3 separate regions of the Homo sapiens genome follow, and regions 1 and 3 are each linked to region 2. Evidence: promoter capture Hi-C in human tissues and cell types (Jung and others, 2019). All regions are on one chromosome and are shown on one strand. Each heading gives the region's core, a stretch centred on a gene start or on the middle of the fragment in contact. The rest is flanking DNA. Distances are from core to core; before and after follow the strand shown.

What was found. Contacts are between HindIII fragments. The study calls those that stand out against the background at their distance.
Region 1: a contact is called between a fragment that was not itself captured here and the fragment with the promoter of RORB in region 2, in 2 of the 25 tissues and cell types used here (lymphoblastoid cells and mesenchymal stem cells).
Region 3: a fragment that was not itself captured here is called in contact with the fragment with the promoter of RORB in region 2 in 2 of the 25 tissues and cell types used here (bladder and lymphoblastoid cells).

Annotation. Positions count from the first base shown.
Region 1 is chr9:74,082,952-74,085,712 of GRCh38, forward strand. No RefSeq gene overlaps it. Among named protein-coding and RNA genes, the nearest start is that of RORB, 410 kb to the right of the region's middle. RefSeq lists an enhancer at 2,296-2,761. The HindIII fragment of the contact is 7,929 bases long and covers 1-2,761 here.
Region 2 is chr9:74,495,844-74,498,799 of GRCh38, forward strand. RORB (RAR related orphan receptor B) reads left to right here and starts at 1,492. Exons shown (of 10, transcript NM_006914.4): 1 at 1,492-2,140. The coding sequence starts at 2,134. RORB-AS1 (RORB antisense RNA 1) reads right to left here and starts at 2,710. Exons shown (of 5, transcript NR_125791.1): 1 at 2,399-2,710. RefSeq lists silencers at 1,128-1,340, 1,336-1,525, 1,430-1,724. The HindIII fragment of the contact is 7,823 bases long and covers 1-2,956 here.
Region 3 is chr9:74,117,772-74,120,523 of GRCh38, forward strand. No RefSeq gene overlaps it. Among named protein-coding and RNA genes, the nearest start is that of RORB, 380 kb to the right of the region's middle. The HindIII fragment of the contact is 3,224 bases long and covers 1-2,752 here.

The DNA of each region.
Region 1 (2,761 bases), core at 213-2,712, 410 kb before region 2:
ACATTGCTTTTTTTGTCATCATTGGAGGTAAATCTCAGGAATGTTAAGGAAGAAATGCACATCAAAAAATCAGCAAATTAGATTTTTCCCCAGATCTTTATGAGATGTGACATTAAAATATCTGGGCATTATACAAGCCAAAATATGATTGTCTCTGTTACAGGTCACTCCAATTTTTATTTTATTGTCCAGAATCCCATTTTTGGACAGAATACCATTTCTGAGACTTCATCATGTATATTTACACCAAGCAGGTGGTTAGGAAGTGCCATCTACCGATTGTTTTACTTTCTAATTTGTAGAGTCTATAATGCCCTTTCATATATCAAACTATAATTAAAACAAAACACATGGGAATAGAATCCAAGTATTACTTTAATAGCTTAGGCATTTGTGGTTAGTACAGATGACTTTTTTCTATTTGTTTTCAGAAGCCCAAATACCGTAAATAGAATCCTGCAGCAAGCCTTGTGTTTCAACTGTATAACAGAAGCTTGAACTGGGGATTTTTAACAATTCCACTTCAAAGGAAAGCAGACTAGTCAGTAGCTCAGTTTTGTCCTTTTGAAGCAAACAATAATAGATGTGCCAGTTTGCAAAATGTGCACATATGACTAGTGTATCAACATTGTTAAATAAAAGGTTATTGCATTAAATAAGATGACCTTGCTACCTTTTAGTCACAGTCTTAGAGAGCAAACTTGTTTTAATTAGCAGTCAGCAAGCAGACTGTAACTTCACTGAAGGAGCATTGAAGAATCACTGCCTATTAACAACCCAGCGGTAAGTAAGCCAGCACAAATACTTATAACCAAATAGTGTGCATTTCAGGAGTGGAAAGGATTAGCTATTGGGCACACAACACAGTGGAGGAAATTGCTTTATTCCCAGTACTGCTGGGTACCAGGAGGCAATCACTGTGCCTCCATCCCATTAACAGCATTCAGAGTGTTGCTTCCCATAGAAGGGGTTATTGGCTAACCACTGGGTGACCAATTAAATGCTATGAATAAGTCCCAAACCCAGCAGCATGGGGCCTGTTTGTGGCACAGTTGTATCATTACTAAAGTGAAAAACTTGATGAGAAAGGAACATATTTAATTATAGAACTATACAAATGGCTAATTAGGACCATAAAGTGAAATGAATGACTTTCCAGTGGATTTTTGAATGTTACTGATAACTGCTCAGCTTCTTTGGAGACCATGAAAGTGATCTACAGACAGAGCTTGCATGTCATGGTAATGGATGGATCTTCATTAGAGGAAGTTTTTTGACCTGGTTGCTCAGGTAGCATGGGTTCTAAAGACAATCCTTGATTCCTTTCACTGCAAGGGTTCTTTCACTCCAACCCCCTGGTCTCTCTTGAGTTCCGCTTGCTTTCACAATAATTCTTATGGGTTTAAATGCAGAAACATTATCTGCAATAGTCACTCTCTATCAGTTGGAAAACTGAATGGCAAAAGAGTGTCACTAGTTAGTGGGAAACACTGATCCATGCTTAAGTTTAGCTTTTAAACTCTAGGATTAATCCTAAAATCTGCAATTACACTTTGCTAATTCAGGCATCTCAATTGCTAAAATGTCATGAATCCTTTAAATGGAAGAATTATAATTTAAGGCTGTATCTACCTAGTGACTAAGATTAAATTAAGAAAAACAAAAAAAAGGAACATTGGAAATTGATCTGAAATCATGAAAATGAAAATCAATGTAATTGACTTCTTGCTATCAATTGCTGGAGCAAACTTTTGTTTTGGATGTGTTTGTGTGTTTTATGTTAATTTTGTAAGAACAGGTTTAATGATACTAATTTTATTTTTGTTTATCAAAAATGTAATAAACATCTATAATGTATAAATAACTGCACTAAAACTGTTCAGAAACATCACCTTCCTGGCAGAGTAAGAAATATTCAGTGCTATCAAAGAATTACATCCTTCTAGTCAGGTAACTATACAAAAGACTTACTTGATGTCACTTAATATTATTGAATGCTTGCCTTTGCTTTTATTTTTATAATTTAATTTTATTTTTATTAAACAAATTATTATTAAAAAATAAACAATTCTTCAATATGTATAGTAAAGAGAACAATTTTATCACCTCTGAACTCTGTCTACTAAATTTGCTAGTCACTATTATATTGTAAAGGGCATAGTAACCACCTTCCTGGTAATCAAGATTTGGTGAAAGATACTGATACTAGATGAGTTTATAAACATTGTGGCTAGAAATTTGAATGAGAATGCTATAAATTTTCCACATCGGTAAATACATTATATATTCCTAGATGATTTTATCCAGCAGCAAAGTCAAGGTCAATATAAATATGTACCCAATTCTGTTCCTGAGAATACTGGAATAGTGAAAATGTATATTGACTGACTCCATTTCCACCAATCACAAGAATACTTGTCATGAACTTGTTGATTGACTGCTTAGTCAGAATTCATATAAATATTATTTTATTTTTAGCTTGATCACTGAAATGATTTGGAGAGTTCTAAAGGTAGCACAGATCTCCAAAGATCATCTGACATGGACCTTTCTATCCAGGAAAGCTACATTTTACTCATCCAAGGAATTGATGGCTCCTTACGTTTAAAATATCCTCAGGTATGCAGAGCCTGTCAGGCCTCTGAGCCCAAGCCAAGCCATCACATCCCCTGTGACTTGCACATATATGCCCAGATGGCCTGAAGTAACTGAAGAATCACAAAAGAAGTGAATATGCCCTGCCCCACCTTAACTGATGACA
Region 2 (2,956 bases), core at 242-2,741:
CAGTAACTTCCTTTTGTTCATTTCATTTAATTAATGACTCAATCAACTTTCACTCTTAATACTAAAATTTTCCTAAATTACACATTGGTTTGCAAATGGGATGGCATATAGCAGGGCTACGTCAATTTAATACTGGTGAAAATTCAGCAGATAATTCATTTTTCATTTAATCAGGAAGGAAAAAACTACTTGGCAGTGTAGAGCGACCTAATTAACTAAATAACTGCCAATTCTACATTGTACTTTGTGTTACATGACATATCATGAATAAATACCAGTCAAAAATCAAATTATTTGGATACTTAAATGATGATGAGGCCTGCTGTGCCAACAGGTATGCTAATGAGTAGACATCTCCCAGCCTCAAGACTGAGTGAATGAGGCAAATATTTTCACCTCCCAATCTTTTAGGGTGTTCAATTAACTCAAGTATTTAAGAAGTTCCCTACTATTGGGAAGGAAGTAGATGTAATCATCTATATGCTTATTTTGTCAACTGAGTTGGAAAAACTTGCAAAGGAACAGTTTGGATATATGTATTAGATTTTTATCAAAATACAAATAAATGGTCATAGATGACAATTTTCACCTAAGGAATACAAGTAAGTTTATCTATGTTCAGTTACCAATCGCCTCTAACTAAAGTTAACAATGTCTTCCTTCTAAAACCTTTCTAAAGAGCACCCTGCAATCACACCTTCTAGCAACAGCCATTTCTCTTGAATTAGTAAGGTGGCTACACCGCCAATTTGAGCTGTTCTCCTTCAGTCCTGTAGTCCATCGCCAGGGGAGTCTCCAAATGCTAATAAAAATCAATTTCCCAGACAAAAGAACATATACACGTTTTTTTCTTTCTTTCTTTCTTTTTTTTTTTTTTTTAGAAGAGGGTCAGGGAGCATCTGACGGACGTTTTTAAAGGAAGGGGACAGCTACTTCCATGGGACTGCATTTTAGTTGTGCTAAAAGTGATGAAAGTGGGTTTGCATTATTCTACCACCAACACCCAAACCACCTGCCCACGGAAACCCCCGCCGGAGACCGAAGTTTACCCAAATAGCGCTCGGCAAAGCGCTGCCATAAATTCAAAACTAACTCTGCCGGGCCCGCGGGGGTTGCGAGACAGGGACCGAACGTGAAACCCGGGGAGCCCCGCGTCTCTTGCCTCCGAAGGTTTTCCGTGATCAGTGTCCCCTTCTCTGCTGGAGTCGGAAGTGCCTGTCACCTGCGGATCTGCCCGACTCTCCCGGTCGGCCCTTCTTCTCTGCCCAGTTCGGACAGTCTCGAATTCCCCGTCGCAGCCCCGGCCACCTCGGACTCCCTGGTCCCCAGCCCCCGCCCCACCCCCCGCCTCCACCACGTCCCCTCCCCGCGGTCCCAGCCTCTCCAGGCGCTGCTGGGCTCTGATTGGCGGCTGCGCTGACAGCAGGCGGGGCCTGGAAGTCGCGGCCAAGCCCGCCCTCGCGTATAAGCCCCTCTCAGCGCTCTCTCTCCATCTCTCCCCTCTCTTTCTCTCTCGCTGCTCCCTTCCTCCCTGTAACTGAACAGTGAAAATTCACATTGTGGATCCGCTAACAGGCACAGATGTCATGTGAAAACGCACATGCTCTGCCATCCACACCGCCTTTCTTTCTTTTCTTTCTGTTTCCTTTTTTCCCCCTTGTTCCTTCTCCCTCTTCTTTGTAACTAACAAAACCACCACCAACTCCTCCTCCTGCTGCTGCCCTTCCTCCTCCTCCTCAGTCCAAGTGATCACAAAAGAAATCTTCTGAGCCGGAGGCGGTGGCATTTTTTAAAAAGCAAGCACATTGGAGAGAAAGAAAAAGAAAAACAAAACCAAAACAAAACCCAGGCACCAGACAGCCAGAACATTTTTTTTTCACCCTTCCTGAAAACAAACAAACAAACAAACAATCATCAAAACAGTCACCACCAACATCAAAACTGTTAACATAGCGGCGGCGGCGGCAAACGTCACCCTGCAGCCACGGCGTCCGCCTAAAGGGATGGTTTTCTCGGCAGAGCAGCTCTTCGCCGACCACCTTCTTCACTCGTGCTGAGCGGGATTTTTGGGCTCTCCGGGGTTCGGGCTGGGAGCAGCTTCATGACTACGCGGAGCGGGAGAGCGGCCACACCATGCGAGGTAAGCGAGTCTGCGGGCACCGAGGCTCCCCGAGTCCGGCCAACTCCAGCCAGACGGGGAGATGGGGGAGGGGAGGGCACCCAGCAGAAAGGGAAAGAGGTTGCCCAGGCGCAGTTCCCCGAATTCGCTCTCGCAGGTGGGGCTGCAAATGGCCTGGGCGTAGAAAGTTGCGGGAAGGTGTTGATGTCTTTCGGGAGTTCTGGAGGGACGCGGGAGGGCGCTTTTTTGGAGAGGGGAGACAGGCTAGTTGGTTCTTACCAGTCCTTGAGTTGCACTGAATCTTTTTTGCTTGTCGCTCTCGGGTGCGGAAGCGGACGCGGGATGGAGAAAGCCGAAAGAGGGATGCCTCTGGACAGGAGCAGTTTGGAAGCGCCCGGCGCGCAGTGGTCGCCGGCCGGGTTTGGGCGCGCGGGGCGCACCGGCCGGGGGCAGGGTGGACACGCGCGGGCACACACTCGCCAGGTTACGAGGCCCACTAAGCGTCCTGGCCAGCAGGCATGTCCCTTCGCTGGAGTAGCAAGCAGAAGAGCAGTGCTGCGAGGCTGGACGCGGCTGAGGAAACAGTTAGTTCCCCGGCACGCGGCTGAGGAAACAGTTCTGCGGCGCGCGCCTTCGTGCCGGCGCTGCGCCCTGGCCAGGTCCTCGTGCCCGAGCCCGCGCGGCCCAGGGAGTAGTGCGACCCCGGAAAAGTTGTAATGAGAAAGTTCTGGAGGCTTGGAAAGGCCACACTGCTCACAGTCGGAGAGTCATGGGCTCCGGCTCTTTTGTCAGATAAAGGGCCGGTAGTGGAAGGAGGTGCTGGTGCACCCTCGGGCC
Region 3 (2,752 bases), core at 202-2,701, 380 kb before region 2:
CACAATTAAATACTTCTTCATAATTTCTGACACTAAAGTAACTTCTAAAGTAATTGCATGTTTTCTGTGGCTTATATCAGTGAAATGTGGTCAGCCTTTACTCTGGCACTCATTATGAGTGGCAATGTCTTTAATCCTTGTGCTGTTTCTGACCCTGATTCTGAAGATTAGCATTCTGCAACCCTGAGTCACTGGGTTATCCTGGTAAGTTGTACAATCATTGACTTCGAGCAGGGTTCTGATCAGTGTAGTACAAGGTTAAGATAATCCTTGCTCTTCGTGACATTTTTCTTCTCTTATTTTCTGTTAAGGAGACAATCTGATGGCTGTGGAAGATTTTACAAGAGTCGGTGTTTGAAAGTTTTTTCCAAATCCACGTTAATGGAACAAAATAATGGGGAACCAACTGAGACTGGGGCCTAATTTAAAGTCACTTTGCCAAATTAAGGCATAGCCTTTCACCCACAGCACTACATCCTAGTGCCATTTGTCTTTTCAGTTAACTTTATGGATCCCAGAAACACTAAATATCAAAGCACATAAAAGTAAGCACTTTAAATAAAACCTGGAAGAATCTTAAATTAATACAGCCATTGCAAACTTAGATAATACATTTTTTTTCCCCAAATGACAGTGTTCAGAAGATAGGAAAAAGCTCTAGCTGTTTTAAAAGAATGTGTTCTGCATAACAAAGATGATGAAGATGAAGCAGGTAAGCAATTATCAGTTAGTAAAATGGTTAGAAAATAGAATAACTAACCTGGTGGGTGAAAACTCAGATGAGGATATTAATTCACTATTTAACTGGACAGACAATTTATAGCTAAAAAAATTATTATGTTTTGATTTTGTAGCTGTTATTGAAATGAAAGTCTTTAAGCTCAAGACAAAAGTAGTGTTTTCCATTCACATCTCAAAGGTAATATAAAATGAAGTTGCCTTATTTTCCAACCCAAGATAAATTTAGAAGGCCGTTTTTCACAAAAGGAAAAGGATATTGGAAAGGAGGGAAGATAGAGGAAAGGAAAGTAGGAAGGAAAGAAGATCCTTACAAAGGTGTCTTAAAAGGGAAATAGCTAAATCCTACAAAACTAAAGAAAATGGTATACCGTTGTAAATGAAAAGATGGGAAATAAAGCCAAATGTGGATGTGTAGTACTTTCTTTATGATTTTTACTTTGTTAAGCTTATATCTAGTCTTTTATTAATAAGAAACTATTATTTGTCTCTCATTTTTTTCTCCTATTTATCTCTTGAAAGTTCTTGATGAAGCAGTATGATTGTGTCTTATCCTATTCAGGCTGCTATAACAAAAGACCACAAACTGGTAATTTATAAACACCAGAAATTTATTTCTCATGGTTTTAGAGTCTGGGAAGTCCAAGATCAAGGTGCTTGGCAGATTCAGTGTCAGGTGAGGTTCTACCTCCTGGTTCATACATCGTACCTTCTGATCCCCACATGGTAGAAGGGCTTGCAAGGCATCTCTCTGAGGCCTCTTTTATAAGGGCACTAACCCCATCCATGGGAGCCCCCAAGACCTAATCATCTTCCACTAGGCCTAACCCAGTAATATCATCACCTTTTTGATAAGGCTTTAACGTGAACTTTGGGGGAACACAAACATTCAGGGTGTATAGCAAGTTCTAAATTTGTGGGAGTTTGAAAGTTTTTTGTGTGTGTGGTTTTTTTTAAATGTTTATTTTAGGTTCAAGGGTACATGTTCAGGTTTGTTATATAGGTAAACCCGCATCACAGGAGTTTGTTACATGGATAATTTCATCACCCTGGTTCTAAACCTAGTATGCTATAGTTATTTTTTCTACTTCTCTCTCTCCTCCCACCCTCCAACCCCTGAGAGACCCCACTGTCTGTTGTTCTCTTCTTTGTGTCCATGTGTTCTCATCATTTATCTCCCATTTATAAGTGAGAACATGTGGTATTTGGTTTTCTGTTCCTGTGTGAATTTCCTAAAGATAATGGCCTCCAGCTCCATTCATGTTCCCACAAAAGACATGATCTTTTTCTTTGTTATGGCTGAGTAATATTCCATAATATTTGGTAATATTCCAAATGTAACACATTTTCTTTATCCAATCTGTCATTGATGGACATTTAGTTTGTTTCTGTGTCTTTGCTACTGTGAATAGTGCTGCAGTGAACATTTGCATGCATGTCGTGCATGCGTCTTTATGGTAGAACAATTTATATTCCTCTGCATATATACCGAGTCATAAGACTGCTGGGTCAAATGCTATTTCTGTTTTTAGCCCTTTGAGGAATTGCTGTACTGCTTTCCACAATGGTTAAACTAATTTACACTCTCAGCAACAGTTTATAAGTGTTCCCTTTTCTCTGCAACCTCCCCAGCATCAAGTTATATATTTGAAGCATGAGATTTATCTATTTTGCAATCCAGGAAATCATTGTAATTTTTCCTGAGTCTCTAAAGGAACGAGTAGCTCTGTCTTGCACACTAAGCATACATAAGGTTTGGGAGAATATGTAGTTCATAAGTTATGAAATCCCACAAAGTGCCTCAGGGAAAATAAAAGGCATTAAGAAGTACAAATATTCATGTGTTGTCTTTTTTATATTCAAATATAACAGTGAGAAGACAACTATATTTTTTTCATGTGCATGTGAATAAACAAGTCCAGAATATGTCACCTTTTGGGATGTTTATAGAAAGACCATCCTTCAGGTTAGAGCTATTTCTCTTAGTCTGCAAGTCATCTTGATTCTTTGATCA